Linked DNA regions of Homo sapiens: regions 2, 3, 4, 5 and 6 are each linked to region 1. Evidence: promoter capture Hi-C in 16 types of primary human blood cells and fetal thymus (Javierre and others, 2016). All regions are on one chromosome and are shown on one strand. The core of a region is centred on a gene start or on the middle of the fragment in contact, and the rest is flanking DNA. Distances in the headings are between cores, read along the strand shown.

What was found. Contacts are between HindIII fragments. The CHiCAGO score rates a contact against its expected background, and 5 or more counts as called.
Region 2: a contact is called between the fragment with the promoter of KDM5C here and the fragment with the promoter of VCF2 in region 1, in 5 of 17 cell types (neutrophils, naive CD8 T cells, total CD8 T cells and 2 more). The highest score is 9.2, in neutrophils.
Region 3: a contact is called between the fragment with the promoter of SMC1A here and the fragment with the promoter of VCF2 in region 1, in 8 of 17 cell types (naive CD4 T cells, non-activated CD4 T cells, naive CD8 T cells and 5 more). The highest score is 10.4, in naive CD4 T cells.
Region 4: a fragment that was not itself captured here is called in contact with the fragment with the promoter of VCF2 in region 1 in 1 of 17 cell types (fetal thymus); the score reaches 5.4 in fetal thymus.
Region 5: a contact is called between a fragment that was not itself captured here and the fragment with the promoter of VCF2 in region 1, in 2 of 17 cell types (total B cells and total CD4 T cells). The highest score is 8.3, in total B cells.
Region 6: a fragment that was not itself captured here is called in contact with the fragment with the promoter of VCF2 in region 1 in 1 of 17 cell types (total B cells); the score reaches 6.0 in total B cells.

The regions. Positions count from the first base shown.
Region 1 is chrX:55,159,040-55,163,969 of GRCh38, forward strand. It overlaps VCF2 (VCP nuclear cofactor family member 2), which reads right to left and starts at 2,146. Exons shown (of 3, transcript NM_001166701.4): 1 at 2,098-2,146; 2 at 90-189. The coding sequence starts at 2,117. RefSeq lists enhancers at 1,809-2,108, 1,934-2,434, 2,435-2,935. The HindIII fragment of the contact is 5,872 bases long and covers 1-3,843 here.
Region 2 is chrX:53,221,795-53,226,724 of GRCh38, forward strand. KDM5C (lysine demethylase 5C) reads right to left here and starts at 3,413. Exons shown (of 26, transcript NM_004187.5): 1 at 2,946-3,413. The coding sequence starts at 3,095. It also overlaps a transcript of IQSEC2 not described here. RefSeq lists enhancers at 2,955-3,054, 3,295-3,674, 3,513-3,807, 3,685-3,734. The HindIII fragment of the contact is 15,929 bases long and covers 1,721-4,930 here.
Region 3 is chrX:53,420,647-53,425,576 of GRCh38, forward strand. It overlaps SMC1A (structural maintenance of chromosomes 1A), which reads right to left and starts at 2,008. Exons shown (of 25, transcript NM_006306.4): 1 at 1,846-2,008. The coding sequence starts at 1,954. It overlaps RIBC1 (RIB43A domain with coiled-coils 1), which reads left to right and starts at 2,227. Exons shown (of 8, transcript NM_001031745.5): 1 at 2,227-2,358; 2 at 2,668-2,756. RefSeq lists enhancers at 1,165-2,139, 1,256-1,435, 1,556-1,605, 1,796-1,975, 2,140-3,111 and 1 more. The HindIII fragment of the contact is 3,638 bases long and covers 1-2,937 here.
Region 4 is chrX:56,761,119-56,766,048 of GRCh38, forward strand. The region is part of intron 2 of NBDY (negative regulator of P-body association); the gene reads left to right. Among named protein-coding and RNA genes, the nearest start is that of NBDY, 34 kb to the left of the region's middle. RefSeq lists enhancers at 2,489-2,538, 2,559-2,678, 2,642-3,143, 3,139-3,498. The HindIII fragment of the contact is 2,994 bases long and covers 1,345-4,338 here.
Region 5 is chrX:53,672,090-53,677,019 of GRCh38, forward strand. All of the region lies in intron 3 of HUWE1 (HECT, UBA and WWE domain containing E3 ubiquitin protein ligase 1), which reads right to left. Among named protein-coding and RNA genes, the nearest start is that of HUWE1, 12 kb to the right of the region's middle. The HindIII fragment of the contact is 9,468 bases long and covers 1-4,930 here.
Region 6 is chrX:54,014,815-54,019,744 of GRCh38, forward strand. PHF8 (PHD finger protein 8) reads right to left here. Exons shown (of 22, transcript NM_015107.3): 5 at 2,847-3,007; 6 at 1,781-1,922. Among named protein-coding and RNA genes, the nearest start is that of PHF8, 27 kb to the right of the region's middle. The HindIII fragment of the contact is 157 bases long and covers 1,862-2,018 here.

The DNA.
Region 1 (4,930 bases), core at 896-3,395:
TAATACATTTCTTTTCATTATGGAGCACAAATTGGATAATTTAGTGTAGGCAATGAATGAAATAGAGGCAATCTGACCATACTTGCTACCTCTGTATCTTGAGAATCCTGAAAGATAGGGTTTCTCTTATTCCTTTTGGGCTGGGTGGAATGATGGTTGCCCTCTTTACTGCCATTTCTTCTTCTTTTCCTGAAAATAAATTGTAAAGAGAGAGTTGTTACATGAAACAACTGATCTTTTGGATGCTTAAATTGTAAAGCCGTGACAACATACATATATGAGAACTTGTCTGAAAAAATGTCACTATCTGCTATCCCAAGATATAAAAGTCATATAAGTACTCCATTACCAGGCATGAAGATAAAAAAATGTAATACAAGAACTCTAAGTAAAGCCAAGCTGTGCATTTCATTTCTAGAAATAATTTTCATAACCTTAAATGATCCTTGAAAATAAAGAATATGAGGAATTTAATAGCTAAGTTTTCAAAATCTACCTAATTAGTTTCATTGTTTTGACTCCATGAAGTTACAATTCCAGGGTAAGTGATTTTTAACTCCTTCAATAAGATCGTAAGACATGTGTGTCTGCCAGTGTCTACTCTTAAGTTCTTATGCCAGTGGTGTAGCGACACTGAAGAGATATTTCTTGTATGCTGAATGTGGTTAGGCACTTACTGTTGCTATACCAGCTAATATTATGACATAGTTACTCCACTAGATTGTCACCATGAGATTGTGGCTGATTACTTCCTTGAAACATTCTTTTCTCAAAATTGTTTTCAATGATTGGTAAGATTACATCTTCAGTTTCAAGTTCCTTGTCAATAAGTAATCAGATTGCAGCGTTTGACATAGTTTTCACAGCACTCTATTATTAACCAGACATTTGCTTAGAGACTTACTTTTGAGTTTTTGGTACTCCTAAGAATGGCTGAGTTTACTCATTTTTATAATTTCATTACTCTTTAATCAATTCTCATCTCTAGGAGACTGAGTACTAGGAGACTCTAGGAGACTGAGTACTGAGTACAAAATGCCAAATAAAAAATCACGTAGAAAACTGCTCCTATATTACACTCCATTATGAAATGATTGATTATATATAAAGAAAAAATGACCGGGTGTAAATATTATTTTATTTCACAATGTTTATTGAGCATCCACTAAGTGCTAGGCACTCCTCCAGGTGCCAGGATAAAAGAGTGAAACAAACACATGCCACAGCTCTGCCTTCATTAGGGAGCATGGTGATGTTTGTCTTTGATCATGGTATTTTGAGTATTTGAGTATTTTGCGCTCAAGTTTTACTGAAACTTTCAACAGCTTACAATACGTTTGCATTGTTTTTAAAACAGAGTAATACTATGAAAATGATTTTTCAAAGTGTGAAGCTGAGTTTAAAAAGCGGAATGTTCATGAAACAATGTTAATCTCATTTTTTAAAATGCAACTTTACGAATGAAAAACATCTAAGGAAATTTATCACAGAATATGATTAATGGTCACGGCTGGGTGATCGGACTGTGGATAAGATTGGTTTCCTTTATTACGCTTTAACAGTCTAACCAAGTTTTCTACCATGAGATTCAGAGACGTTTGTAATGAAAGAATACATTGATAAAGGTCCATAGAACCCCAGTAACACGTGGAGAAAGATGACAAAACCAATCAGAGAAACAGAAATACCAGTTGCTAGGGTACCTAGCAGCCTCACCGAGGAAATGCCAATTTGAAAAACAGAATGCTATTGTCCACTGACTGAGTTTTCGCGAGGGACCACATCCCCACCTCACCCCCGCCTCCAGGGCTTGTAAGGCACTGACAACCAAAGAACCAGCATGTTCTTTCGGAGAAGGCTTCGCGGGATTTTTTTTCAAGCACGAAGGGCGGGGCACGAGGCAAGCAGGGCCGCGCCACCGGCCAACACTGTCACCTGCAGGTCATGAGAGCCGAGCGCCACCAACCCCGGAAGAAAATACATATCCGCTGCGTTTCCGCCCTGAGCCCCGAGATCTTGGCTGAGAAAGCAAAGCGTGATGACCGTGGGGACCAGAGCTCGGACTGGTACCGGCCGGAAAGGCCCCGACGAACTTACCGTACAGGGCAGCCTCCCATAGTCCTGCCCTCGGAACCATAGCAACCGCGCAGGAAGTTCCTGCGCCGCCGGAAAAACGCAGCCCGGAGGGCGGGGCTGGCCAAGGATTGACGGGCTCTGGGCCTGCGCATCGGAGCCCGGGGAGGTCGGCTCCTGTTTCCTCTGGGTCCGCCGCAGGCTCCCTTCCCTGCAGTTGGGAGCTGACGCCTGAGGGACGATCCGCTGAGGGTCAGGCTCTGCTGCGCGACTGCCCGAGCCGCCCCATGTTCGAGACCTGTGCCAATCCCATGGACATTCTCCTCCCACCCAGCCAGCCTCTGAACACGCTTCTCACGTGGCACACGCCCTGTCCTCGCAGCCCTCACACCGCTGATCCTCCTCGGCGACCTCAGCGCCCCCGGGGCTGACCAGGCCGTGGCCGGCGCCTCTCCGTCCTCGGGGGGGTCTCCTTCCCCCCACTTAAGTCTCTTCTGCCCGCGGTCATGCCCTGGGCCTCAGGAAAGACCGCGCCCCTCCACGATGTCCATTTCTTGCATCCCCCATTCTCATAACGGGCAGCACCCGATCGTGTCCTAACAGCTACCTCTTCCAGTGCCCCAGCATCCACAGCCTTTAGCCTCAAGGAGGCCTCCTCTCCACTAACCACAACCGCGTTCCTCACCATTCACCTTCCTTAGCCAGCTTACCCAAAGCTATTAACTCTCTCCTCCCTACTCTCCTGGCAGTCCCCCCGCCGCCAAGTAGACAAACAATGTACACCCTCCACAAGTGTACCTTCTCTGTCTAGTCTACTTACAAGATCCCTCCACAAGCACCAGCACCCAATTTTCTCATGATATTCACTGATATTCCCTTGAGAAAATAGAAGCAATCAGAGAAGAATTCACACCACTTCCCAACAGCAGTAGACCTGCACTTATAATCTTGGCTGCTTCCCTGGAGGAAGAGACAGGATCCTACTTGAGACCAGGCCCTTCACCTGGATCCTATGCCTTCCACCTTCTTAAGGGATCATCCTTTGCAGTTATGCTTTCTCCTGAATTATCATGTTCCTCTATCTGTATTTATTATCTAAAAAGTTGGCAAAGGGAGTGCTAGAGTTTAGGCTGATCCTGGTTCTTGCTGTTAAGTAGGTGATCTCACAGGGGGCTGCATTCCCTGAGGATGGAAGGGAAGATGTGGAAAGTGGCTGATTCAAGAACTAAAGATCATGCCATAAAGGAAGCCTAACCCAGCTAGGGGCTAGGTGACCCTGCAGCCGAGGCTGTGGAGTAGACAGCCCTGGACAGGGGACTTTTAGACTGCCATGTTTGTCGCTGCATTGTGCAATTTTAACAAGAATCCTGCTAAGTCAGTTTAGTTAGAATTTCCCATCATCAATATCTCAGTTAGGTTCCTCATCCCCCAGGTGATGTCTAGTCACCCTGGCCCACCTTCACCAACAATCCTGTTAGTTCAATTTAGCCACAATACCCCCTTACCCGTGGTGTTTCCTCTTAGTAATTTTCCGTCCATTGCTCCCCACCCTGCTCCTTGGCTATAAATTTCCACTTTTCGTTGTTGTATTTGGAGTGGAACCCAGTTTCTCTCCCTTCACTGCAAAACCCCATAGCAGTGGTCCCTACACCTATCTTGATGGTCCTGAATGAAGTCTGCCTTACCGTTCTTTAACAAATGCCATGAATAATTTTTTTTCCTTAACACCCTTCACTTGGATCCCATGCCCTTCCACATTCTCAAGGAACAAGCTTTTGTAATGATCATTCCTTTTACTTGAATCACCATGTTCTCCATGTCTATCGGATCATGCTATCGTCTACAAAGTGGGCAAATAGATGGTTAGAAATGAGGGATTTTGCTTTCAAGAGCTGATCTTGGTTATTGCTGTGTTGTAGGTGAGACCCCAAGGGGCTGCATTCTCTGAGGAAGGTGGAGGGGTTGGAGGGTATGGAAAGTGGCTGATTCAAGAGCCAGGGGTGCTACCATGGGGCAAGCTTAAGCCAGATAAGGACTAGGTTACCTTGCAGCTGAGGCTGTGGAGTGGACAACCCTGGCCAGGGGCTGAAGGGAGGATGAAGCCCAGATTCAGAGGGGTCTGCAGAAGCTAGCACACATGGGCTGAGGCTGAGTCAGCCAGGGAGTACCAGATTCTGACCAAGATGAGAGAGACAAAAATGCAAGTTACACCAGCCACAGACATACGTGAGCAAATCAGCATCACCAGCAGGATTTGGGAGATAAGTTAGCCTTCCTTCAGAAACCACTGAGGACACTGCAATCAACATGAGACTCCTAAGCAATGCAGACCATGTATTAGGCCATCTTGCATTGCTGTAAAGAAATACCTGGAGTCTGGGTAATTTATAAAGAAAAGAGGTTTGAATTAGCTCATGGTTCTGCAGGCTGTACAGAAAGCATGGCGCCGGATTTGTCAGAGGCGTTCGAACCAGAGCAATTCTATCTTGAAAAAATAGGAAAAATCTAGGAAAAAGGAGGCTGGGATTTGCTTGGCTGCATTCTCAGAAAATTAGGTATTTCTAGCCTCTAGATGTTTTTACTGAACAGACCCAGACTTAGGAGTGTCGTGATATCCCAATATCTTGAGAACAGAAGCATTCCTAATTTTGCTTTAAAGATCATAATATCAATTCTTGCAAGATATAGTAATTAAGAAAATTAATCCTTTATCACAAACCCTTGTAGCAGAGCACATCTCCCCATAATCTTTTTTATCCTGTATATAAACGAGTATTGTACCTAGGGTGGATGCATTCCTTTTCTTACTTTTGGGAATATCCTACTCTGTCTGTAGAGTAGCTGTACTTTCACCACT
Region 2 (4,930 bases), core at 2,163-4,662, 1.9 Mb before region 1:
TGTGGTGGCAAAGAATGGGAGGATTTGGGGAGGGAAGTCAGGGAAAGATCATGAAAGTGGGAGACACTCTGCTCTGCCAAGTTGGAGCTTGCTGTGTCCTGCCCAAAGGTCAGCTGTGAAGAACCCCCTCTCCAACACCCCTTTCCAACCTCCTATGCAGACCTCTCCTTCCCAGAGCCCTGGCTCCTGCTGGGGTGGTGAAATCAACCTAAAGTAACCTAAACCAATGTTCTCATTTTATAAATGGGGAAAGTGAGGCTCAGAGAAAAAAAGTGAAATTTCCAAAATTACATGCTGAGTTAGTGGTGGGGCCAAGAACCCACGTCTTCTGACCTCTGATCCAAGGCCTTTGCACTACACCAGACATCAATGTTCATACATACATGCATACACGTGGGCGGGGGGGAGAGACAGTGAAAGAGAAGAAAAACTGTTGACCTCTTCTGCACACACACTTTTAGAAAATGGGCTAGAGGACTCATATTTTGCATGCATACACAGACCACACTCCCCTGCCCCTACCAGCCAAAGCAGGTGGCAAACATCTGGGGCTCAGTAAGCAGGGACAAAAAAAAAAAAAAACAGGCAGGCCAAAATGGTATGGCTCAAATCCAGACAAGCTCCCCATGCCCTCTTGCCTCTCATCAGGATAGGGCACTCCCCTCAGCACAGGTAACCCAGCTAAAAAGGTGCTCAAACCCAAAACTCCGGGCACCCTTCTTTCCTGCTGAATCAAGTTCTAGACAATCAGTGCAACATCAAGCACCTGACAGGAAATGGCAGCCCTGGAATGCTACGGCAGGAGCCATGGATGCAACAGATACCTGGGAAGGCCCTGCAAACCGCCTGCCTTCATCTCCAGACTACTGTATGCCAAATGTATGTTGGTATTACTGGGATGTGGTGATAAAAAAAAGGCTGGCTACCTGATGAAGAAAGCAAGATCCTTCCAAACTCCACTGGGTCTACTCAGGGTACCCACACTCTCCTCCCACCCATCTTTCCCAAGCGTAGCAGTCACCTGCCCAGCAATTCAGGCCCCAAACCATCCTTCCTCCAGCAAACCTCCAATTCCCAGGTACCCACCCATATACAGGTTCCCACCCTGGGCCCAAGCATCACTTGAGCGAGTACTTCAAACTTCAACCAGAAGAAGGCCAGCTGCCTAAAGGTGGCCTAGGAGCTGCCATAGAGAAGGAAAAAACAAAACCAAACCAGAGAGCCAGGTATCCTGGATTAGAGAGAAGCACACTGTTGAGCAGTGAAAAGGACGGCCTCCTGCTGGCCATGCACACCTGGGACATGTCACTCTTCCCCTTCCTGATGCCCCAAAGCAGGGTAACAACACCTACACAAGGCCAGCCTGCCTAAGTCAGTCCAAGATAGAAAAAAGGAATTCAGGCCTCAACTACCCCCTACGTCAGCTATGCCTCTTTTTCCCACAGGCTTGCCCAACCACTTCAGGGAGTGCCTCCTTGAGGCTGCCCAGGACTCCTGCCTCTCCCTTCCACTAGCCTTCCTGACCCTCTACCCACTGCCACTCCCTCACCATGGACAAGGATACCTCAGAAATCTGTGGCCAGACTCCAAGAAGGAAGAAATTCGCTTACCCAACACCTCCTAGAGGATCTATCTGAAACCATCCTAGATCTGTGGCTGAGCACCAGAAAGCACCAAGTTGGATAAGGAGGCCTGTGGTGCCCTCCTCAGGTGGGAATGAAGCTTCCTATTCCATTTCAGCCAGGAGACACCCACTCAAAAACACCCTTTTCCAGCAAAGCTCAATTTCTGCCCTTGGAATCCCAACTGATCACTGAACATTATCATCACTTTTCCACCATATCAGCAAGGCAGCAGCTTGCCCTAGCCCTTGGGAGACTTCTAGCCTGAAGCCAGGCCTAGGAGGAAAGCTATGGCCTTTGTTGCTGACCCCTGGCAATCATGTTCCAAAAGGGACAGAATTCCATGGCTCCATTCTGTTCTGCGGGCCCAAGAGTGCCCTATCCTCTGGGATCTCCTACATCCTGGACCAGAGGAGAGTAGAAATCTTCTGAGAAGGACTCACACCCCACCACCAAGCTGACCGGTCCAAACATCTCCATAGGAAGTCAAGTCTGCGGGATGATGTGCAGAAAAGGCCTTGACATTGCCTTCAACGAGGAAAAGAAGAGGACAATTCCCTGAACCCACCTCAAGGGAGACAGAGCAATCCCTGTGAGACTGATTTCCTGACTGGTCCAGCAGGCCAGGATATTATCATAGATGAATTGGCCTGGCAAGGTATGAGTAAATATGAGTCAACCTACATAGGAATAAACCAATGACCACATCAAACACCCTCACAGTCACAATAATTACCACTTATCTAGTGCGTACTACATACAGACGCTACCTAGTTTAATTCAATCCTCTAAATAACCATTTCTGGGATCCATTTCACGGGCTCAGAGAGATTACTTCTACTTTCCCAAGGTCACACAGCTGCTCAGCTTCAAAGTGGAGTTTTGAACTCAAGTCTGTCTCCCTTCAGGACTGCGATCTTTCTATTAATACTATACTATGCTGCCTGCCTTAAAGGAAGTGATGACAACAGATTGGAGAAACGTCTTATTTTTACAGCCTCGACCTAGGTGGCCCGGGCTAAGAGATGTGCGGGGTGCCTCTCTGTGAACTCCCTCCGGCCCACTAGGAATCCCTGTCTTAAACCCGGAGTGATTCTGAAGGGCCGGGGTGGGGGTGGATCTCTGACTCCAGGTCACCTGTGGGCCTCACACCACGAGAGGACCCCTGGCCCAACACCCTTTTTCCGATCCGCGCCGCAACCACAACGGTCCCAGCCACCCCCTCTCCCCACCTCGAGCTGCCCTCCGCCCCAGACTTCGCCGCTGGCTATCCTACTGCTTCATTCCGTCTCGCCGCCGGCGAAAACCGGCCCCGGGGCTTACCGCGGGTGGGCGGATCTTGCAAATGCCCGATTTCTCTGCGATGGGCCTGATTTTCGCGATGTAGCCAAGAGGGTCTCGGAACTCGGCCCAGCTAGGCTCGAACACCGGGCACTCCGGTGGCGGTAGGAAATCGTCGGACCCCGGCTCCATGGTGGGCCCGAGGTCTGGGCCAGGGATCGGGAGGCTTGGACCGCCCTTAAGGACTCATGGCGCCGCCGCTGTTTGAAGCCGAGGCAATGCTCGGAGGCTAGGCCCTAAGCGGGGCAGCCGCCGCCCGCCGAGGGCCTAAGGGGGCGTGTGGCCGTCGTGCTCTGAGAGTCTCAGGCTGACTCTACTGCTACCGCCTCTTCGTCCCGCTCCGTTTCTTCCAAACTGTGTGGTTGCCTCCCCACTACCGCAGCCTTCGCCACCACAGTTACCTCCCAAACGCCGCGGCCTTCAGCGCCGCCGCCGCCATCTTGGTTTGTCAGCGTCTCCCCTCCCCACACCACAACAAACCGGATCCTTCCGCGGGGTGTCCTTCCGAGCCTCGTATACGTTGCGTCACACCAAGCCCTAGGAAACCTTCATATAGTGGAGACCGAGCTAAATAGGCTGGTATGGGTTTCTATTTGGAAGGGGTTACTCAAAAGTACCACCCCGGACTGAGAGAAAATAGTTCATTGCAACGGCGGAGGAACAAGATTGTAATTAGTTTGCCGGATCGTCTTTCCGGATGGACCGGCGGTGCACGTTTAAAGGCCAGTGATGCGCATGCGCGTTATGGAGACCGGAAGAGGAGCTGGTGTCCGTGGGTGGTGGAGTCAAACCGGCACTCCCCCGCAGACCTCAACCAGGTCGCTAGCCCCGCACCAGTGTTCTCTGTCCCTTCTCCCTGGTCTTAACGGTATGGGCCGCGGAAGGCGGCTCTGGGAGCCTGATTGCAAAGGACCCCTTATGCTGGCCCGCGGGATGGGGGGAGATGTACTAGGCTCCAGCTCTAGACACTGACACCTCTGGGGCTTTGAAATAAGGAAGGCAGGAAGCTGCTCACTCCCCGGGGATTATGGATTTTTAGGATTCTGAGTCCCAAGTAAAGGAAGGAAATCTTTATTTCATCCAAGGTTACAGGTAGAGAGATGGGGTTTCGATTCTTACCCCCCAAAAGTCACTGGGAGTCAGCATTTTAATGAACGCTTTCAACTGTTCTGTATTCACTTTTACCATGTACACATTTGTGGCATATACTCCTACAAAATAAGCCTGTGTGTATGTATACTTTAACTATTGGATGTTTAGCAACGGCGTATTTATCCAGTGTCAACTGTGTAAAACACCTGTTTGCCCATTTGTGAGCCTACAGTGCACTTACCAAACATCCGTGTACTTTTATTGTATTTATTGTGTATAGCCCCTGTGCATTTGGTACCAACTGTATGTACATTTAGTCCTATCGTGTGCATGTTCCTTGAGCAGTTTCTGAATAGGTTCATTGCAACTACAGTACTTTGAATGAGTATCATCAAACCAGTACTTTGTACATATACATCAGGCATCTACTGATTGGAGGATCATCTGTGTCATTCATCAGCTGTGGACCTACTGCATATAGTTTGAACACCTACTGTGCAAATATTTGAGTACTTGCGTACATGCTGATTAAGTAATTTTGTTTTCCCCCATCAGACTATGAATTCCTTAAGGGCAGGGACCATGTGGCCTTATACATCCTTAGCACTTGGCATGTTAAGCAGTAAATGAATGTTGAGTAAACAAAAGAAAAATGAATAAATGTCCTTAGTATATATTGACTGAAAAATATGAATACTTTTTGCAAACATTTCCTGTTTAACATATTAAACATCCACTGTAAGCTCGAGGCAGATAGGGAGTGTCATACCTTCGTGCAGTTAACTGTTCCTAATCAGATACTGTGCCAATTAGGTCCATCCTGCCTACTTCAGGACTGAGCTAAGGACATCCTGGCTGAGGGAACAGGGCACACA
Region 3 (4,930 bases), core at 758-3,257, 1.7 Mb before region 1:
CTCATCACAGCAGGACTAGCACATCATGCAGACCAGGAGTCAGCCTTTTAGGAACCAATATCCAACCTTTGGGCTTCTCCCATCATTTCCAGGGAGGACAACATCATCTCACAACCCCAAGCCTCTCTAATCACAATCAATATGGTAAACATTTTTGTAATATATATTATGGACTGAACACCAGTAAAACGTTTCAAGGAATGTCTGCTTTAGGGTACTCACAGGCCAATGAAGATACAAAAACATGCACCATCAATATAGGACTTAATAAACATTAACGTGTACCAAGTGTCTACGGTATGCCACAGAGGAAGACTCACTCACCAAAGGGACTAAAGGAATGGCTTGTAGAGGTGGGCCTTGAAGAACGGGGGCAAGTGGGGGAGTGCCATAGCCCTTTTCAGAACAGCTGGGAATACAAATCTACTAATGCTGAGGGGACTGAATGCCAAGAGGTACATCCTAGCTCTTCCAACAGGGGCCACTACACTAAAACCCGAGGAAACTGGGTGGACACCAAGCATTAGCCCTCCAGGCCAGTGGTTCTCAAACAAGTTGGGGGGTTGGGGGAATCACACACACCCTCTGTGACATCTAGCAATGTCTAGAGACAGTTTTGATTGTCATGCCTGGGGAGCAGGGGTGCTACTGTTATCTAGCAGGTAGATGCCAGAGATGCTGTTAAACATCCTACAATGCACAGAGCACATCCCACAGCAAAGGATTATCTCGCTGGAAATGTCAATAGTGCCACTGTTGAGACACTCAGTCTCCAGGAAAGGTACTCAGTATGTGCTACTTCAGCAAGGGCAGCCTCTTAGGCTAGGATATCATTCAGCTAGAACATCTCTGGGGTGGAAGAATACAGCAGGATTCCAAATGGACATCTGAGGTGAGAGGAATCCACGGTGTATCGTTTAGAGTTGGGAAGACACAAAATAGAGGCTTTACCTGACCACCCTTTCTAAAGACACCACCTAAGTCACTTTATCACATCCACCTGTCTCATTTCCTGTATAGCACTTATGACAGCCTAAAACCATCTTATTTTCTCCTTATCTTCTTTCCCCTCTGGAATATAAGTTCCCTGTGAGCATGGAGTTGGTTTATTCTATTCTCCGCTGTTTCCACAACTTGCAACTGAATAACTCCTGATAAACAATAAGCATTCAACAAATTTGGTAAATTAGTTAATTTCGGCTTTTGACGGTTTCGGTGGTAGGAAAAGGGCGAGTTCGAGGCAACTACCTCTGACATAGCGGTGGGGGGTGGGGATCGACACCTCAAGCATTCTAAAGACTGGAGCGCTGGGTCTGAAATTCAAAAGTGCCGCCTCCAGAGAAGAGTAGAAAGGAGTTGGAGTGTACCAATGCGAGGCGAGAGAGGACGCTGGGCTGAAACAGAAGTGCACCGTTTGGGACCGAAGGCCACGGGAGAGCTACCAGCGTCCCCACATTCTCCGGAGGGGGTCAAGTAAGGCTGGGAAGCCGGCTCCGGCCGGTCCGGCGGGGAGCCGCGCGGCGGAGGACTGAGCTGGCGGGAAGCTGGTTCCAGACGCGACTCCTTTGGCGGGAGGGGGAAGTAGGCGGGGTAACTGGCAGCTCGGCCTGTACCACTGGGCCGGGGCGGGGGCCGCGCAGGAAGCGGCAAGTGACACCTGGAAGGGGTTCGAGTTAGAGCACCCGCGCGGGGAGAGTGGGTTCGAGCAGAACCCCCTCTGGACGGGCAAGGAACCCGTAAGGGTCCGCGACGTTTCAGGTTACATGGGCTGGGTTGTACTACTCCGGCACCGGATAAGGGGTCCAGGCCGGGACGTGCGCAGGGCCGCGGCCAGGTTTATCTCACCAGAGCCATTGGGTCCAATGATGGCGGTGAACCTCTGAAATGGTCCGATAATCTGTCGACCCTTGTACGACTTAAAGTTCTCAATCTCAATCAGTTTCAGGAACCCCATGACGGCCGCGGCGCCGGCGGCAGTAGGACAGGCCGCGCCGTACGCCCGAGAACTGAGGTAGCCCGCGCGGGAAACGCCGCAGTGCAAGCCGGGCGACCGGCAAATGTCGCGAGAATACGTCCAGGCCTAACGGGATTTTCGCCTTCCGGCAGGAGTGGGACCAGGGGCGGGGACTGATGTTGCGTATACGAGGAGCGAGCTGACGACTGGCGTGGTGCCTCCGCCCCCCTTTCTTGTTGCATGGCAACAACAAACACTTGCTCCTGCGGACCAGATCCCCGGAGGAGTTGTTGCTGGGCGGAGTCAGAGCAGTTCTTGAGGTTCAAGGAGGCGGGGGAGACCTGAGCTCACGCTTGCTGAGACAGAAGTCACAGCAGGATTATGCCCCTCAGGGCAAGAGGAAGGTGGGAGCTCGGCTGTGGCTTTAGCCTGGCCAGCTTTCAAGGCTAGGACAAGGACAGGGTCGGGAATTGGAAGGACCCGGGGGGAGCGGAGAGCTGGACGGGAAGGAGGGGCCAACGGGAGGATTCAGTGTTAGGTGAGCTCAGACTTTGCTAATGGTGGGGTGGGATTGGTGGCGGGACGGGTTGCGAAGGCGGACGGGTTGTGAATGGGACTGGGGCTACTCCCAGGCAACAGGGATACAGGCTGGGGAAGGCTACGGCCTGAGATACTACCCCTATCCCCTGCCTCCCTCCTGTTGTACCAAGCAGAGTTCAGAAACTGCCGCCGTAACCCAAGAACAAAGTTGCATGCAGAGCCAACCTAAGAGCTTCAAAATCGGGATTCCTTACTGAGAAAGGTATTTTGTGTGAACCCCCAGGAGTCAGGGTCCCTAAGCCAGCGCTCTCCACCTCCACCTACCTCTGCCTCCATGCCTCTCCCCCATCCCATTCCCACAGCTCTATACCACAATGCCACCTTACCTCTCTTCCCTCTCTGCTCTCTATCATTAATAAGGCAGGGGCCTTAGCAATCCAAGAAGCTTAAAATGTCAGCTGAATCTTCCCCTTCAGTGACCTTATACTGTAATGGCAGGTGAAACCAGTAGGTAAGTTGGTGCCATTCTCAGACTTAAACATGGAAAGGATCTGGTGGTTGCCATAATTATTCCTTTAACTATTTATTAAATTATGTCCGAAGGCTAGAAAGAGTCCTAAAGACTTAGGACAAGTCCAGGAAAGTGAGGAAGTGGCTGGGCATGGTGGCTGACAACTGTAATCCCATCGTGAGGGAGGCAGGCCAAGGCAGGAGGATCACTTGAGACCAGCAGTTCAAGACCAGCCTGGGCAACATAGTGAGACCCTATCTCTACTAAAAATTAAAAAATTAGCTGGGTGTGGCAGCTCTCACCTCTGGTCTACCCAGGATGCCGAAGCAGGAGGATCACTTGAGCCTGGGAGGTTGAGGCTGTAGTGAGTGGTGTCCGCACCACTTCACTCCAGCCTAGGTGACAGAGCAATACCCTGTCTCAAAAATAAATAAAGGGAGGAAGCTTGGTAGATGGAATCTAGTAGGGGAGCCATAAATGAAGTTCAGCTGGGAGAAACAATCAGGCTGAGGGGATAAAATGGCTAAAAGACAGCAATCTCATGTAATCCATGGGGAAATACTGTTCCCTTTTAAAAGATGAGATGGTGAGCCTGGGTAACATAGCAAAACCCAATCTCTACAAAAAAATTTTAAAAATTAGGCAGGCATGGTGGCACACACCTGTAGTCCCAGCTACTCAGGAGGCTGGGGCAGGAAGATCCTTTGAGCCCAGGAGTTTGAGGCTGCAGTGAGCCATGATTGCACCACTACACTCCATCCTGGGCAACAGAGAGAGACCCCATCTAAAACAAATTAAAAATAAAATAAATTTTATTCTCTGCCTCAGCCTTCCAAGTAGCTAGGATTACAGGTGCCCACTGCCACGCCTGGCTAATTTTTTTGTATTTTTAGTAAAGACAGGGTTTCACTATGTTGGCCAGGCTGGTCTTGAACTCCTGACCTCCTGATCCACCTGCCTCGGCCTCCCAAAGTGCTGGGATTACAGGCGTGAGCCACCGCGCCCGGCCAAAAATAAAATAAAATTTTAAATTTAAAAAAGATGAGATGGCACTTGGGGGGAAAATTAAATTGGATCCTTATCTCACACCATACACAAAATGCAACTCCAAGTGGATTAAAAACCTAAGTGACGCCGGGCACAATGGCTCATGCCTGTAATACCAGCACTTTGGGAGGCCGAGGCAGGAGAATTGCTTGAGTTCAAGACTAGCTTGGGCAATATAGTGAGACCCCATCTATATTAAAAAAAATTAAATGGGGCCAGGTGTGGTGGCTCATGCCTGTAATCCCAGCACTTTGGGAGGCCAAGGAGGGTGGATCATAAGGTCAGGAGATTGAGACTATCCTGGCTAACACTGTGAAACCCCATCTCTACTAAAAATACAAAAATCAGCCGGGCATATATGTTCAACTACTTCACAGTTACAAAATGGAAAACAAAACAAAACACCAAAAAGATCCAAATAGCTATAGGAGGAATTAAAGAATCACGCTCCAAACAAAGGAACAGCACATACAAAGGCCCCGGGGTGGGAACAATTACTGTGTTGGAGGACTTGATCAGCTTGCCTGGAGCACTGTAAGCAAGGGAGACAGTGGTTTGAGACAAATTGGAGAGGTGTGCAGGAACTAGATCTTGAAAGCCCACAGTAAGGAGTTTGGATCTGATTCTAAGTATAGTGGGAAGCTAGTGGAGGATTTAAGCAGGTGAGAGACATGATCAGATTTATGTTTGCTAAAGTTTTTTTGGCTGCAGCTTTGGCTGGGTTACATGCCAAAAGTGAGCTTCCCAAAATATGAAGGAACACAGGCAAATTTAGCTTTCTAGCCTTTCATTTGACCAGAAAATAAGTAATAAAAGTAAAAAAAAAAAAAAAAAAAAAAAAAAGGGTGGGGGGACATATATTTCAGAAAAGAAAGCTG
Region 4 (4,930 bases), core at 1,592-4,091, 1.6 Mb after region 1:
CCGTTTTTAACGTTTAACTCCCATCACATCTCAACTTTTTCCTGTCTTCACCTGTGCTTCCAAATGTCCTCAGGCACATATATGTGTCCCTACTCATACTCACTCACAAGCGTCTGCCCAGGCACCTCCACTCATACCTGGGTCCTGTTGTGCAGGCAACTCTCAGAGGGCAGGGTTCTTCAGCTTCCCGGTTCCATCTTGTTCATCTTCCTCATCCCTTGTTGTCTGGCTGCCCAATATTTGCTGGCGGAGGGTGCGGGATGTGTTGGGGGTGGAGACAGCAGGGAGCAGGGCAGCCTCCTGGCCCAACAGGCCTCTGTGCACATGCAGTGCAGACCTGGGCATAAGGGGCTGACACTTTCTCCTGGCTGGTTGGTGGCTCTTCCTCTGTGAAGCCACAGAAGGTCACTCGGGTTGCCACCTGTCCATCTGGGACATTCTGCATTCTTGTTCGCTGTCATCCTCATTGCTCACGTTGATTCTTAGTATACTTTTGGAGTTTTTCTTCCTTCACTTTTTTCTTCTTCACTGTCTTTACTTCTCGTCCACTTCTGGTTTGGGGAGGTCAGGATTCGCCTGGAAGGCAGGGTCCGGTTGGCAAGCGAACATATTTAGGGAGAACACGCCTTCTTTTCCTCAGGAAATTAGAAAGACCTCAGTTGACTCCTGCCAGATGTAATCGGGGTGCCCCTCTCCTTTCTGCCCTCTCTCCCTAGTGCCATAGGTGGCTGATTACCTCCTTTCCCTGGTGTCCTTTTCCTCTCCGTTTTTCCTCTCTCCTCCCATTTCTGGGGTCCTACCCTTCATTGGCCTTGTAGACTAGGGGCTCGTGGCCCCTTGCGGTTTGCAGATGACATCCAGAGGGTATGGTTTAGCCTGCATCTTTGTCCTCTGTAGCCCCTGCAGACCTATTTGTGGATCAAAGCTTTTGATCCGACTCACAAGGGATCCCATCAACAAGAAGCTTCTTGGTGGTGTGTCCTTTCACTGGGATGTCACTGTTGTCTCTTTGTCACTCGTTATGTATGTCACCACGCATTGAGGCACCCATGAACTCTATCCTTCAGGACAGCTGAGGTGGCATGAAGCTGCCATTTCTTGTTCTTTTTCTCCATCTGGTTCTTCTTCCTCTTCCTCCTCTTCCTCTTTCTTTCTCTTTTCTTTTCTTTTCTTTCTTTCTTTCCACCTCCTCCTCCTTTTTCTTCTTCTTTTCTTCCCTCCTCCTCCTCCTCCTCTCTCTTTTCCTTTCACTTTCAGATCTTGGCGAGACAAATGTTCTATGGAGACTGCTTCTTCTGCTCCTTGGTAATGGGGGATGTCCCTCTGCGTGCTAGGCAAGGAGAAAGCTTCACTTTTGTTCTGAAAGGAGCAGAGATGAAGGTCACATGTTCAGTTCCTCTGGTCCTCTAAAAAACCACCCATGTGTTACTTTTAAGTGAAATGTCATTCTGAATGCACTTCCTACCAGTACCTCACGATTCATCCTTCTACCTTGTTCTCCTTGAAGACGATCTAATAATGTAATCTTGGCCAGTAGGAGCCTCAGCAAGTTTTCCCCCATTTCCTCTCCTTCCAGTCAAGCCATGTGAACACAACTATCCGGATTTCAGTGTATACAGGCAGGCTGTCTCTGCCATGTGCCAGTTTACCCACTCTCACACAGGAAGGCACCCACAAACCATAGACACAGATACACATACACACACTCACTAGGGACCTCAGAAATGAAATCACAAACACACCCGCACACAGAGACACATGCAGACACACACAAACACACACATAGACACACAAACAAGAAACCTCACAGGGGCACAGGGGTGCAGGCCCAAGCATTCTCCCACACAGACACATACACACCACCACAGGCACGAGACTGCCTACAATTTCTCCCACACAGGTTCTAAATGTGCAAAGGGAACAGGAGACAGGGGAGAATTCCTGACTCCAGGCCTGGGCCATCATGCCATTGATTGATGGGCAACTCTCGCCTTCTCCTGAGAATCAATGTGGGAAGTCTGTTAACAGATAGGATCCAGCAGCTGGTGTAAAACTGGAGCATCCTGGGTCAAGCTGCTTAAAAAGGAACCTCACTTTGTGTTAGAGACAGAGAGAGTTCCCTTGGGAGCCTTGGCCCTGTGTGATGCCATAAGAATCTGTGGTGTGTGGTGGCATTCCCCAGCACCCCTGAGCCACCCTCCTCCCACCCCCATCTGTGTGAAACCCAGGACAGCCTGAGCAGAGTCAGACTTGAGCAAGTTGCTGAGTGTCCTCTCTGAGAGATACTCCTGCTTCAGGCCCTGTGGTTTCCAGTTGAGCAGTCCACCTATTTTGATGACCTCCATGTGTCAGCCCAAGGCGGTAAACTCTACCTGGAGCTCCAGGCTTTCGTAGGACCCCCAGTCCTGCAGCAGAACCTTGTGTAAGCCAGCTGGGTGACCAGCACCTTGTCCTGGGGCAGTAGCCCTATGATCCTAGTCCTCCTGTGGTGTCCCAGTAATGATCATGTTTTTTGTTGTTTACTTTCTGCACGGGCAAGAGCCATGAAACCTGCAGAGAGCCAAAGGAAGGGCAAAGGCTGGCTCCCTAAACAGGATTCCCACAGGATCTCCAGCCTACTGGTCCTGGTCCTTGGTCACACGGTCCCATGAGTTTGGTGATCAATCTGGGACCAGGTGACTGATTCCTTTCACTCCTCTGTCTTTTTTTTTGTTTCTCTTTCCTCTTTACCTTTTTTCACATGGGAAAAGGCGGAGGCCCTGGAGTTGAAGTGGCAGGGTTACAGTTGTAGTTGGCGTTTGTGGAGCCATACTGCCATCAAGCGGAAACTGTATCTAGAAACCGGAGGCAGCTGGGCACAAGTGCTGGGGAAACCCCACGAGCGCAAAAGAGATGGCGGCATGGAGCCCCCAGGCTGAAGCAGGACAAGAGAGGAACTCCAAGCTGGCCCTTGGCCTGTGCTCATTCCCAGGATGCCTCCCTGGTTCCACAGCTCTCTCCGAAAAAAAGGGCAGGTAGGGGCGACCCACCATGGGTTCCCCTGGTCATCTCCAGGTACTGCTGGTCCTGGGTTGCCACGTCTCCAGTATCCCGAAGCTCCTTTGTTCCCCGGGAGGATCGGGGCCCCCTTGCCAACACGTGGCTCCAGCCAAGGGAACCCCGGAACTCCCCACAAAAGACACCAGAGTAAACGGCCCCCGTCTCGGCCAGTGGCTTCGTTTATGTCCATCTCAACATGGCTGCCGGGCCAGCTCCGCCCTCTGGGCTGACTGGTCTTGGGGCTGCCTGGCTGTTCTGTCCTGGGGCCTCTAGAGTAGTTGCTTCTCCAAAGCGTCCCAATGCCAGGTACACTTCCTTCAAGGGCTCAGAACCCCGGTGGGGGAAACCCAGGCTTAGACATAGTCTAAGCACATCCTCGCTGATCTCTGTTCCTGGCAGAAGGCAGGTGTCCGTGCATCCTGTTGTGTTCAGAAACAACTTCCACTAGATGGCAATGTGGCTCCACAAACAGCAGTCTTGTCTTTCCCTTCCCCCATTTTCTTTCCCTCTTTCTGTTTTTGGTGCCAAAAACCAAAACAAACACCAAAAAAAAAAAAAAAAAAAAGAAACTGGCCTAGGAGCACCCATCTCACCTACAGCAGGGCTTCCCATCTATGTGGTCACTTTGGGGGAACCGGCAACAGTAGGATGGGGTAGGGGTGGGGGCCACAGGGAGCAGGGCAGCTTCCTGGCCCAACAGGCCTCTGTGCCCACGCGGTGCAGACCCGGGCTTGAGGGGCTGATGCTTTCTCCTGGCTGGTGGCTCTTCCTCTGTGAGGCCACAAGAGGCCACTCATAGTGCTGCCAGCTGTCCATCTGAGGCACTTTGCATTGCAGTTCGCTGTCAATCTCATTGCTCACTGATTCTTTGTGTACTTTTGGAGTTTTTCTCCCTTCACTTTTTTCTTCTTCATTCTCTTTACTTTTTCTCCACTTCTGCTCCAGGAGCAGACTGGAAGGCAGGGTCAGCTGGGCGCGGGGACACCGTTAGGGAAAACAGGCTTACTTTTCCTAAGGAAATTAGTAGGACTCTAGCTGACCCCTGCGAGGAGAAATTGGCGTTTCCCTCTCCTTTCTGCCCTGTCTCCATATTGCAGTGGGTGGCTGATTATCTCTTTTCCCTGGTGTCCAATTCCTCCCCGTTTTTCATCTTATTCTTTTTTGGGCGGTCCTTCCCTGCCTTGGCCTTGTAGCCTTGGGGCTTGGTAGCCCCTTGCAGTCAGCTGATGACATCTTCAGGGCAAGGTTCAGCCAGCACCTGTGTTCTCTGTAGCTTCTGCAGGCCTACTTGTGGATCAAAGCTTTTGATCTTACTCAGGAAATACCCCATCAACAAGACGCTTCCTGGTTGTGTGTCCTTTAAGCCGGATGTCAGAAGTGGCTCCGTGCCCCTCGTTGTATGTCACCACGCGTTGAGGCCCTCCTAAACTAGATCCTTCGGGACAGCTACAGTGGCATGGACCTCTCACTTCCTGTTCTCCTTCTGATTCTTCTTCCTCTTCCTCCTCCTACCCCTCTTCTTTAATTCTTCTCCTTCTCCTCCTTCTCCTCTTGCTCCTCCTCCTCCAACTCCTTCTTATCTTCCTACTCCTCCTTTTTCTTTTTCTTCTTTTTCCTCCTTCTACTCCTCCTCCCCCTCCCCCTGCACTTCCTTCTCCTTTGCCTCTTTTTCTTTTTTTGCTTTTGCTTCTGCTTCTGATTCTGCTTCTGTTTTTCCTTTCACTTGCGGATCTGGGTGGGCACGTGTTCTAGCAGACTGCTTCTTCTTTTGCTCCTTGGTGATGTGGGATGTCCCTCTGCAGAATTAGGCCTGGAGAAAGCTTCACATTCGTTCTTTAAGGAGCACAGATGAAGGTCATGAGTTTAGTCCCTCTGGTCCACCAAAAGGCTA
Region 5 (4,930 bases), core at 1,223-3,722, 1.5 Mb before region 1:
AAGAGCAAAGTTAAAAATACCATTTCTACACTAGTTTGGAGAAAACAGCTTGGAAAAAAAGACAGTTTGGGGACAACTGAGAAAATGTGAATATGAACCGGATATTAGATAATATTAAGAAAAAATAAACTCCCTAGGCGTGATAATGGTATTGTGGTTTTGTAGATGTCCTTACTTTTTTTTTTTTTTTTGAGACAGAGTCTCACTCTGTCGCCCAGGCTGGAATGCAGTGGCGTGATCTCAGCTCACTGCAACCTCCGCCTCCTGGGTTCAAGTGATTCTCCTGCCTCAGCCTCCCGAGTAGCTGGGACTACAGGTGCCACCACACCCAGCTAATTTTTTTATTTTTAGTAGAGGCAGGGTTTCACCATGTTGGCCAGGCTGGTCTCGAACTCCTGACCTCAAATGATCCACCCACCTTGGCCTCCCAAAGTGCTCAGATTACAGGTGTGAGCCACTGCGCCCGGCTGAGATGTCCTCATTCTTAAGACATGCAGCTGAAAGATTTAAGGATAAAGTGTCATCCTTACTTCTAATGTTGAGAAAAATTAAACACACATCTGTACATATAAATCTAATATGGCAAATACTTAATTGTTGGATCCAGCTGATGGTATACAGATGTTCATTGTGCTATGTTTTCAGCATTTTTGTTTGAAATTTTTCATACAAAATTGAAAGCTGGAAGGGAGGTAATGAATTACATTTTAAAAAGAGCATTTCTGAAAAAATATATAATATGGCTACAGAGCAGTTAAGAAAAGCCTTCGAAGAAGATACTGCATACCAAAATGTTAAGAGTATTTTATCTGTGAGTTTGGGGTTTGCGGAAATTTGTCTGTTTATCTGTATTTTTCAACAATAAGCCATGTATAATTCTACAGTCATGAAGATTACTTAAAAACAAATTCAGGAAAACGTTTTCAAACAAGAGTTAACAAGAAAATGAGCAAACGAAAAAAAGTTCTATTCCCAAAGCATTCTTACTAAAATCAGAATGCTTCTTACAAACTCTAAAATACTGTACAAATTTAATATTATTTAATAATAGGTTTTTGTGTGGCCACCACATCGGTTTTGAACTTTTACTTACATTCATAATTTATACCATTCTCACAGTAGAAAAATTCAAGCAATTCATTGTACTGATTGTAAGGGGGGAAGGGAATGCTGGGTATTAAAAAAGTATCTCCTGTTTACCTATACAGGTTAAGTATCTCCTATCCAGTGCTTGGGACCAGCAGGATTTCAGATTTCAGATTCTTGAATATCTGCCTATACATCATGAGACATCTTGAGGATGCGGCTCAAGTTTAAACATGAAATCCATTCATGTTCCATACACACCTTATACATACAGCCTGAAGGTAATTTTACACAATTTCTCGTATAAATTTAGGTGGCACAAGTACAGTTCTGTTACATGGGTATATTGTGCAGTAGTGAAGTCTAGACATTTAGTGTAACCATCACCCAAATAATGTTCGTTGTACCCTATACAATATTTTTAATAATTCTGCTCATGAAACAAAGTGTTAAGTACTTAGGCGTAGAATTTTCCACTTGTGGCATCGTGTTGAAACTCATTTTGGGGCATTTTGAATTTTGGATTAGGGACACTCAACTTGTGTTACTTCCAACTCCACAAAAAAATGTAAGGCAAAAATAAATGTTAAAAATGATCAATTCTGGAGTGGGGGTAGGGACAGGGATTGTTGTATTATTCTCTGTACTTCTCAGTATATTTTTCAGAAGTAGAAATGCACATATTACAGAAAAAGGTAAAGTTCCCCACGATCCCTCCTCCCAAATAAAGTTGTCAGTTTGCCATGGTTTTTTTTAAAACATAAATAGCATCACATAGTATGTACTCTCTTGCAACTTGCCAAAATTGCCTCCAAAATAGCTGTATCAATTTACGCCACTTGTAGGCAGTATTATAAGGCCAGACTCTTCCTTATACCTTTTACGATGACTTGATATTATCAAATTATTTTTTATCAATCTAATGACTAAAAATGACCTTATTTAAATTTGCATTTCTGATTATTAGTTTGAGTACCATTTCTTGTTAGTGGACGTTTTTAGTTTCCTATTCTGGGAAATGCCTATCCTTAAAATTTCCTACTAGATTTCTTTTCTTATTCCTTAAACACTACCCTTATCATTAAGATGTGAATACACCAAAATGTTAACAGTGACTAAACATTGTGGTGGAATTATGTATATCCTCTCCCCAAATATGCACACATTTTCTAGTTTTTCCTGAATTCAGTGATTAAAAACTAGAAAATGATAAAATGGATGAAAAAAATCCTTTTAGACAAAAGCATTAACTTTCAGGATACTCTACTACAGGTTACCCTTAAGGAGGTCATAAAATCTAGCTCAAAGAAATAAATGCATCTAAAGAGTAAGTCTTGTGAAGAAATGAAACAATAATGGTTTGAGACTATTGATTCATTTGGGGTACGTTTAACTAACTTATTTGTATAGCATTTTTGAATTCATGAAGTACTTTTCATTTATCTTGCTTAACCCTAACAAAACTCTGTGACATTCTCTGATGCCTTCTTGTAAACTGCTATAGCACATTTTGTTCATTCCTCATATTACCATACTGACCCTTTTGTGTGATTTGCAAGTCTCCTTCCCCTAGACCACACTGTCCTACATTCTCCAGTCACTTATCTTTGTATTCCCAGGATGTAGCTGCAATGACTACGTCCTCAATAAATATTTGTTAAATGAATATCACCATCTTCATTTAAAGGATGAGGAAACTGGCTCAGTGATGAGGTAATTTGCCCCAAGTAACATAGCTACTAAGTATTTTATATAAATTATAATGACCTTATCTTCGTACTTTACAAGCATTTAAAAATACATCATCTCGCTTTAATGCTCACAGCAACCTATGAAATAGGCTTTCCGATTACTGTTTTATAGATAAGAATGGAAATTTAGTGATATACCCTAGGCCCACTCGAATCCTAGTTTATATGAAGTACAGCTGTTTCTTTACATTGTACTTGATCACTACCTGGGTATGGGAGCCTCTATTTTTATGTACCAAGTACATTAAGGGTAGGGTATAGGGGAGGAAAGATGGAAGTAAGGCAGTTTAAAGGCACAGGAAAGAGGCTGGAGCCCAGGTGTACAGGCCCATCTAAAGACCATAAACTGGTATTGTAATGTCAACTGCACATGCCACTCTGAAATCCAATATTGGCCCAAAGGTTTTTCTTGATATTACCCTGTATTAATAGAAGACAATTGTTGGCTTTCTCACATATCAGCAGTCTCAAAGGCTGGGGAGGCACACAGAATTAGGAAAGCTGTGAGAAACAATGGACAGGCTATATCATGCATAGACAGTGCAGGGGAAGAAATGATGACACAAAGGAAAAGGCTAAGGAACTTTAAACATGATTTCACAGTCCTTAACTCGACTGTGAGTTTCTCAAGGGCAGAGACCAAGTCTCATTCATTTTATGTCCCTTACTCCTTATACTTAGCAACATTCAGTAAATGTTATGTTAAAAGAAAAAAAAAGATATATTAAGCTAAAAACTGAACAATGACTTCCATTTATTCAGCAGCACTTATTACATGCCACAAACTATACTTTAGATATTATGTGTAATGTTTAAAAAAATAAGATTTACCTGTTTGCTGACCTGCCATGCATGGTGCTGCCCAAATGTGTTAACAGTGGTGATACTGATGACTATTAGGAATACTTATTATAGGTTACTAAGGTTACAACAGAACCTTGAACACCTTGAATAGGAGGGGCCAGTATAGACGGAGAGAGATCAAGGTAACCAATGTAATACACATTACAGAACTAGCTAAGACCCTTCAGAGGGTATAAATGTGACTCCTAAGGAGTTCCAAAGTGAAAAACTACTCTATGGAACATTCAGTTATCACTGGCCAAAGTCTCAGACCCAAAATAACTCAAGAACAAACCCTATCCTGCCTCACCACTGATGATCCCACACAGACCTAAAGGGTCCAGACACATTTTGTTAAATGGCCATTATTTTCACCACCCTGACTGCCCACCTCTGAGCTGTTGAAGGAGTTAAGTAAAATAGTACATTAAATAAATTACCATCTACTGATCACCTACCATGTACTAACACCTTACATTTTCTCTTTAATTCCAATAACCATATGAATAAGGTATTTCCCCCCACATCATAACTGATATAGGTTAACTTGCCCAAACTGACAGACCTAGTAAGTGGCCAGGCCCCAAATCCGGAACTGCCTGGGCTCCATGATCTTCCTATGATTATCAAGGCTTCTCAAACCTTTCCACCTTAACTCTAATAAAAAGGTAGAGAAGAATGAAGAGGCAGGCTAGGGAGGTTAAGTGGAAAGAGAAAAGTGGAACTTGATAGAAAGTTCCAAGCTACCCTTGGCAAAAACAGAATTTCTTTTGACTTCACCTTTTATCTTAATCCCATTAGCTAATTCCAGGTCTGGGGCAGAAATGCACAAGAATGCGCCTGGAAACATCTTGACATACCAGATAGCAAGGAAGCTATCAAAGACTACTAGAGAGCATGTCAGTAAGAATCAGGAGCCAACTTTAAGAGAGTTCCACTAGCCACAAGAAGGGCAATTTGAACTTCGCTAAGGATCAGAACTGCAATGTATTGAAACCCATCAAATGTTTACATCTATGGATGCATAGTTATATATACACTTATATGTGTAACCTTTTGAAGATGACAGGGGACCAATTCATCATCTTGAAAGCAATGTTTTAAAAAATTGAGTATTTATCCTGCTCTTCCTATATAAACTATATTGCTGAGTAACCAAATAAAAGATGAGGGGAAACAAAATTATTCCAGCTAACAGATGAAAACAAAATGATAGCATCAGAACGTCACCATTTTGTAGCCCCCCAACA
Region 6 (4,930 bases), core at 690-3,189, 1.1 Mb before region 1:
ACTAAATGCTCATACTCCCCAGCCCCACTCCAGACTACTCACTTGGCATGTGGATTATAGAAGTTATTGCACTATCCCCATCTCATAGTGTCTTCTTTATGAGAAACCACTAGAGCAACCTCACAGGGCTCAGTTCCAGGTAAAGAAATGTTTCTCTGAAACATCTGTTGCTTTTATCCTACGTAAAGCCACAAATCTTACAATACTGCACTCCTCTCTTTGTTCTGACCTTCAGGAAATTCACTGAAAACTCTATAGTCCATTTCCACCAACCGGGAAATGTGCTGAGCACCCACCACATGCATTCTATTTCCCAATCTTATTTCACTTTTGTTCTAGTTTTCTCTCTTTTTTTTTTGGCTTCTCCACATCTCTGTAAGCTACCTTGAATAGTCTTTCAGGATGAAGTGAAGTATAAACAAACAAATACAGTTTTTAAACACTCTCAGGTTGTTTAACCTTGCATCTTAAAAACAACAGCGCCGGGCGCGGTGGCTCACACCTGTAATCCCAGCGCTTTGGGAGGCCGAGGTGGGTGGATCACGAGGTCAGGAGATCGAGACCATCCTGGCTAACACAGTGAAACCCCGTCTCTACTAAAAACATAAAAAATTAGCCGGGTGTGGTCGCAGGTGCCTGTGGTCCCAGCTACTCGGGAGGCTGAGGCAGGAGAATGGCGTGAACCAGGGAGGCGGAGCTTGCAGTGAGCCGAGATCATGCCACTGCACTCCAGCCTGGGTGACAGAGCGAAACTCCGTCTCAAAAAAAAAAAAAAAAAAAAAACACAACAGCAAGGGTCTTAATATTGTACCGTAATTACATAATACGTTACCATTGAGGGAAAGTGGCTAAAGAGTACACAGGACCTCCCTGTACACTTTTTTGCAACTTCCTATCAATCTACAAATTAAAAGTTAAAAATGTAAATAATCAGACAGTAAGTTTCCTAAGGGCAAAAAGATACATTATGATTTCTTGGTATTTCCCACATTTCTGACCCAAAGAGAAGACTATATACGTATCTACTGTGTGTGTGAGTCCAGATAGAATCATTTAAAGGTAAATAGGTTTCTCTTTTTCTTTTTAAATGTAAGAAACCTACATGGGGGTAATTTTAGTAAATCTATTTCCAGGAACTGAGGACCTATCCCACCAGTTACACAGTGACTGTGGCACTGTTGTATATAGGAGGAAAAGGTCAAAGAAGGGTGTCCTAAGGTCTTGAAAAAGGAGACAAAAATTAATTAAAATAGCTACTATGTAATCTATCCAATGCTAGAAACTGTGGAGGAGAAATATGACTCAACTGTTACAACGTGAGCAGCTACCCTAGAAAATATAACCCAGCTCGCCATCCCAAAGGAAGAAACCACCAGGAAGAAGAGAAAGGAACACGAGGCAAGGTGCGGTGGCTCATGCCTGTAATCCTAGTACTTTGGGAGGCCAAGGCGGGCAGATCACCTGAGGTAGGGAGTTCGAGACCAGCCTGGCCAACATGGTGAAACCCCATCTCTACTAAACATACAAAAATTAGCCAGGCATGGTGGCGGGCGCCTGTAATCCTAGCTACTCAGGAGGCTGAGGCAGGAGAATTGCTTGAACCCAAGAGGCGGAGGTTGCAGTGAGCCAAGATCGTGCCACTGTACTCCAGCCTGGGCGACAGAGCAAGACTCTGTCTCAAAAAAAAAAAAAAAGAGAGAGAAACACGAATATACACTAGATATATCACACAAGTTTCAGGCACTTTGTCAGGTTTTTTTGTTATTCCTGCACCTCTTACCTGGTATCAGAGAATTCCAAACTAATGACATTGAGGACTTTCTCCCTCTTCCCGCTGTAATAGTATTTCACAAAATCACCAAGCTTCATCTTGCAGTCAGCCTGGCGGGTCACATCAATCACATCAATCTCTTTGTCAGAACCTGGAGTAAAGAGATAGGTTCTGCACCAAGTAGTCTCAGGGACTGTGGAAGACTCTCTTGTCCCCTCATCAGTCCCTAGAATGGCCTTACACTCAAAGCTTCTCTCCACTGACACTGTACATATATGTGTGTGTTTGTTTGGGGGGCAGGGGAAGGAACCCATCGCACTTTCCTTAGATCTATGTGCCCTGCTAGGGCAATGGAACTACCAGACACACAGCCTCACACATAGTAGTCCATCTGCCTGGGCCTTGCTTCTCCATTTCTTCTCTTCCTCTCCCCAGAAACTCATGCCCAGACAACAAGTGGCATGTGAGAACAACAGTCAAAAGCTTTCTCATTTCAACAGAAGACAGACAATGATCCCTAGAACTTCCCAGGTAAAAAACGGAGCTCAACCTGGGGTTTTATGGACTATTAAAAGGAGAAGGGGCTGGGCGTGGTGGCTCACGCCTGTAATCCCAGTTGGGAGGCCGAGGCAGAAAGATCGCTTGAGCCCAGTAGTTGGAGATCAGCCTGGGCAACATAGTGTGACATCATCTCTACAAAAAATAAACAAAACTAGCTAGGCATGGTGGTGCATCCCTGTAGTCTCAGCTACTCAGGAGGTTGAGGTTTGAGGATCCCTGGAGCCCAGGAGGAGGTGGAGGCTGCAGTGAGTTAATTGCGCCACTGTACTCCAGCCTGGGCAACAGGGCGAGACCCTGTCTCTGATAAACGAATGAGTGAATGCATGAAAGGAGAACAAAGAGGAGACTAGGATTTTGACTCTATCTCTGCCAAAGAATGACTTTGGACAAGGCATTTCACCTGAGATTCCCAAGATGGTTACAGAGGAAATGCAAAAACAGATTGGAGGGGAAGGGACACAGATCTTGACAGGAATGAACAATGTTACAGTTAAAAGGGTCTGTAGTGTCTTACCAACATAGTGTTCAACATCCCTCACAGTGAATGATGGCGAGGGCAGCGTCATGCCCAACCCATCCTTCTTCAGGACCAGGATGGGCACACTGAAGCTATTTTCTTCCAGGAATTCCACGGTCAGTTGATTTCCAGTGGGCTTCAGAATCACTTCATCTGAGCTGTGGGCCGCAGGAGAGAAAGCTTGAGCCTGAGGCCCTGCCCACTAAAGGCCTTATTGGAGGCTGCCACTCACCCAAGAGGTGGGGTTTTTATGAGGGGACTTAATGTGAGCTGGCAACTAATGCCAAAAACCTCATCTGCCAGGGAAGAAATGATCTGTCCAAGGCAAGAGACCAGGTCACTGGCAGAGGTGGGGAGTATTCTGCCAACATGGTGCTCTTCTCTGGGTGACAAGAAGAAATCAGTCAACAGCCTGGCCAGAAAGAAAAGACACATCTGACAAGTTTGACAGATTTGTTCAAACCAAGAGCAGCATTACCCAATTTAAAACACTGTCAAAGAGAAAAGACTGATTTAAACAAAACAACAACATTTTTACAACAACTTTCTCAACATGCATATACAACAACTTTCTCAACGTGCATACTTAATGAGTTTCAGCCTGGGCATCATTTCTAAACCCGTCTCCACAAAAAAATTCAAAATTAGCAGGGCATGGTGGTGCAGGCCTACAGTCCTACGTACTTGGGAGGCTGAGGCAGGAAGATCACTTGAACCCAGGAGTTGAGGTTACAGTGGGCTTTGAACATGCCACTGCACTCCAGCCTGGGTGACAGAGAGAGTCCCTGTCTTTTTTTTTTTTTTTTTTTTAAAGAAAAGAAAGAAAATAGTTTTCTTTAAATCATGGTGCAGAAAATAGTTTTCTTTTAAATCATGGTGGAGGAAAGATTTGTATTTGACAACTCTGACAACTTGTGTTGGGACAAATATATTAAGCTCAAGCTCAATGCCTATCTCATTCTTTTTTTTTTTTTGAGACAGAGTTTTGCTCTTGTTGCCCAGGCTGGAGTGCAATGGCACAATCTCGGCTCACCACAACCTCCGCCTCCAGGGTTCAAGCGATTCTCCTACCTCAGCCTCCCGACTAGCTGGGATTACAGGCATGCGCCACCACGCCCAGCTAATTTTGTATTTTTAGTAGATAGGGGATTTCTACATGTTGGTCAGGCTGGTCTTGAACTCCCGACCTCAGGTGATCTGCCCGCCTCAGCCTCCCAAAGTGCTGGGATTACAGGCATGAGCCACTGTGCCTGGCCTGCCTATCTCATTCTTTACATAATCCTAGATGGTCCAAAGATTAAATTCCAAAAAATAAAGCTTTAAGAGTAGAAAAACCTGGGAAAAACCCAGCAGTCATTAAAAATAGTAATAAACTTAACCATATAGAAATTAAAATTTTCTCCAAGAAAGCTGTTATAAATCAGTAATAGTAACACAACAGAATGCCTATAAAACAAGCAAGTAGTTCACAGAGAAAACAATCAAGCTGGTTTATAAATGTATGAAATCTAAGGCTGAGTGCAATAGCTCACAACTGTAATCCCAGCACTTTGGGAGGCCAAGGAAGGCAGATTGTTTGAGCCCAGGAGTTGGAGACCAGCCTGGGCAACATGGCAAAACCCCGTCTCTACAAAAAATACAAAAAAAAAATTAGCTGGGCGTGGTGGCACACACCTGTAGTCCCAGCTACCCAGGAAGCGCAGGTGGGAAGATGGATTAAGCTAGGGAGGTCAGGGCTGCAGTGAGTGGTGATTGCACCACCCGACTCCAGCCTGTCTCAAATGAGACCCTGTCTCAAAAAAAAAATCTACTTATTTCCTTCATAATTAAAGAAATACAAGTGTGAGCTGAGTACAGTGGCTCACACCTGTAATCCCAGCACTTTGGGAGGCCAAGGTGGGCAGATCCCTTGAGGTCAGGAGTTTGAGACCAGCCTGGCCAGCATGGTGAAACCCCATCTCTACTAAAAATACAAAAATTAGCTGGGCATGGTGGTACGTGCCTGTAATCCCAGCTACTTGGGAGGCTGAGGCAGAATTGCTTGAACCCAGGAGGCGGAGGGTGCAGTGAGCTGAGATTGC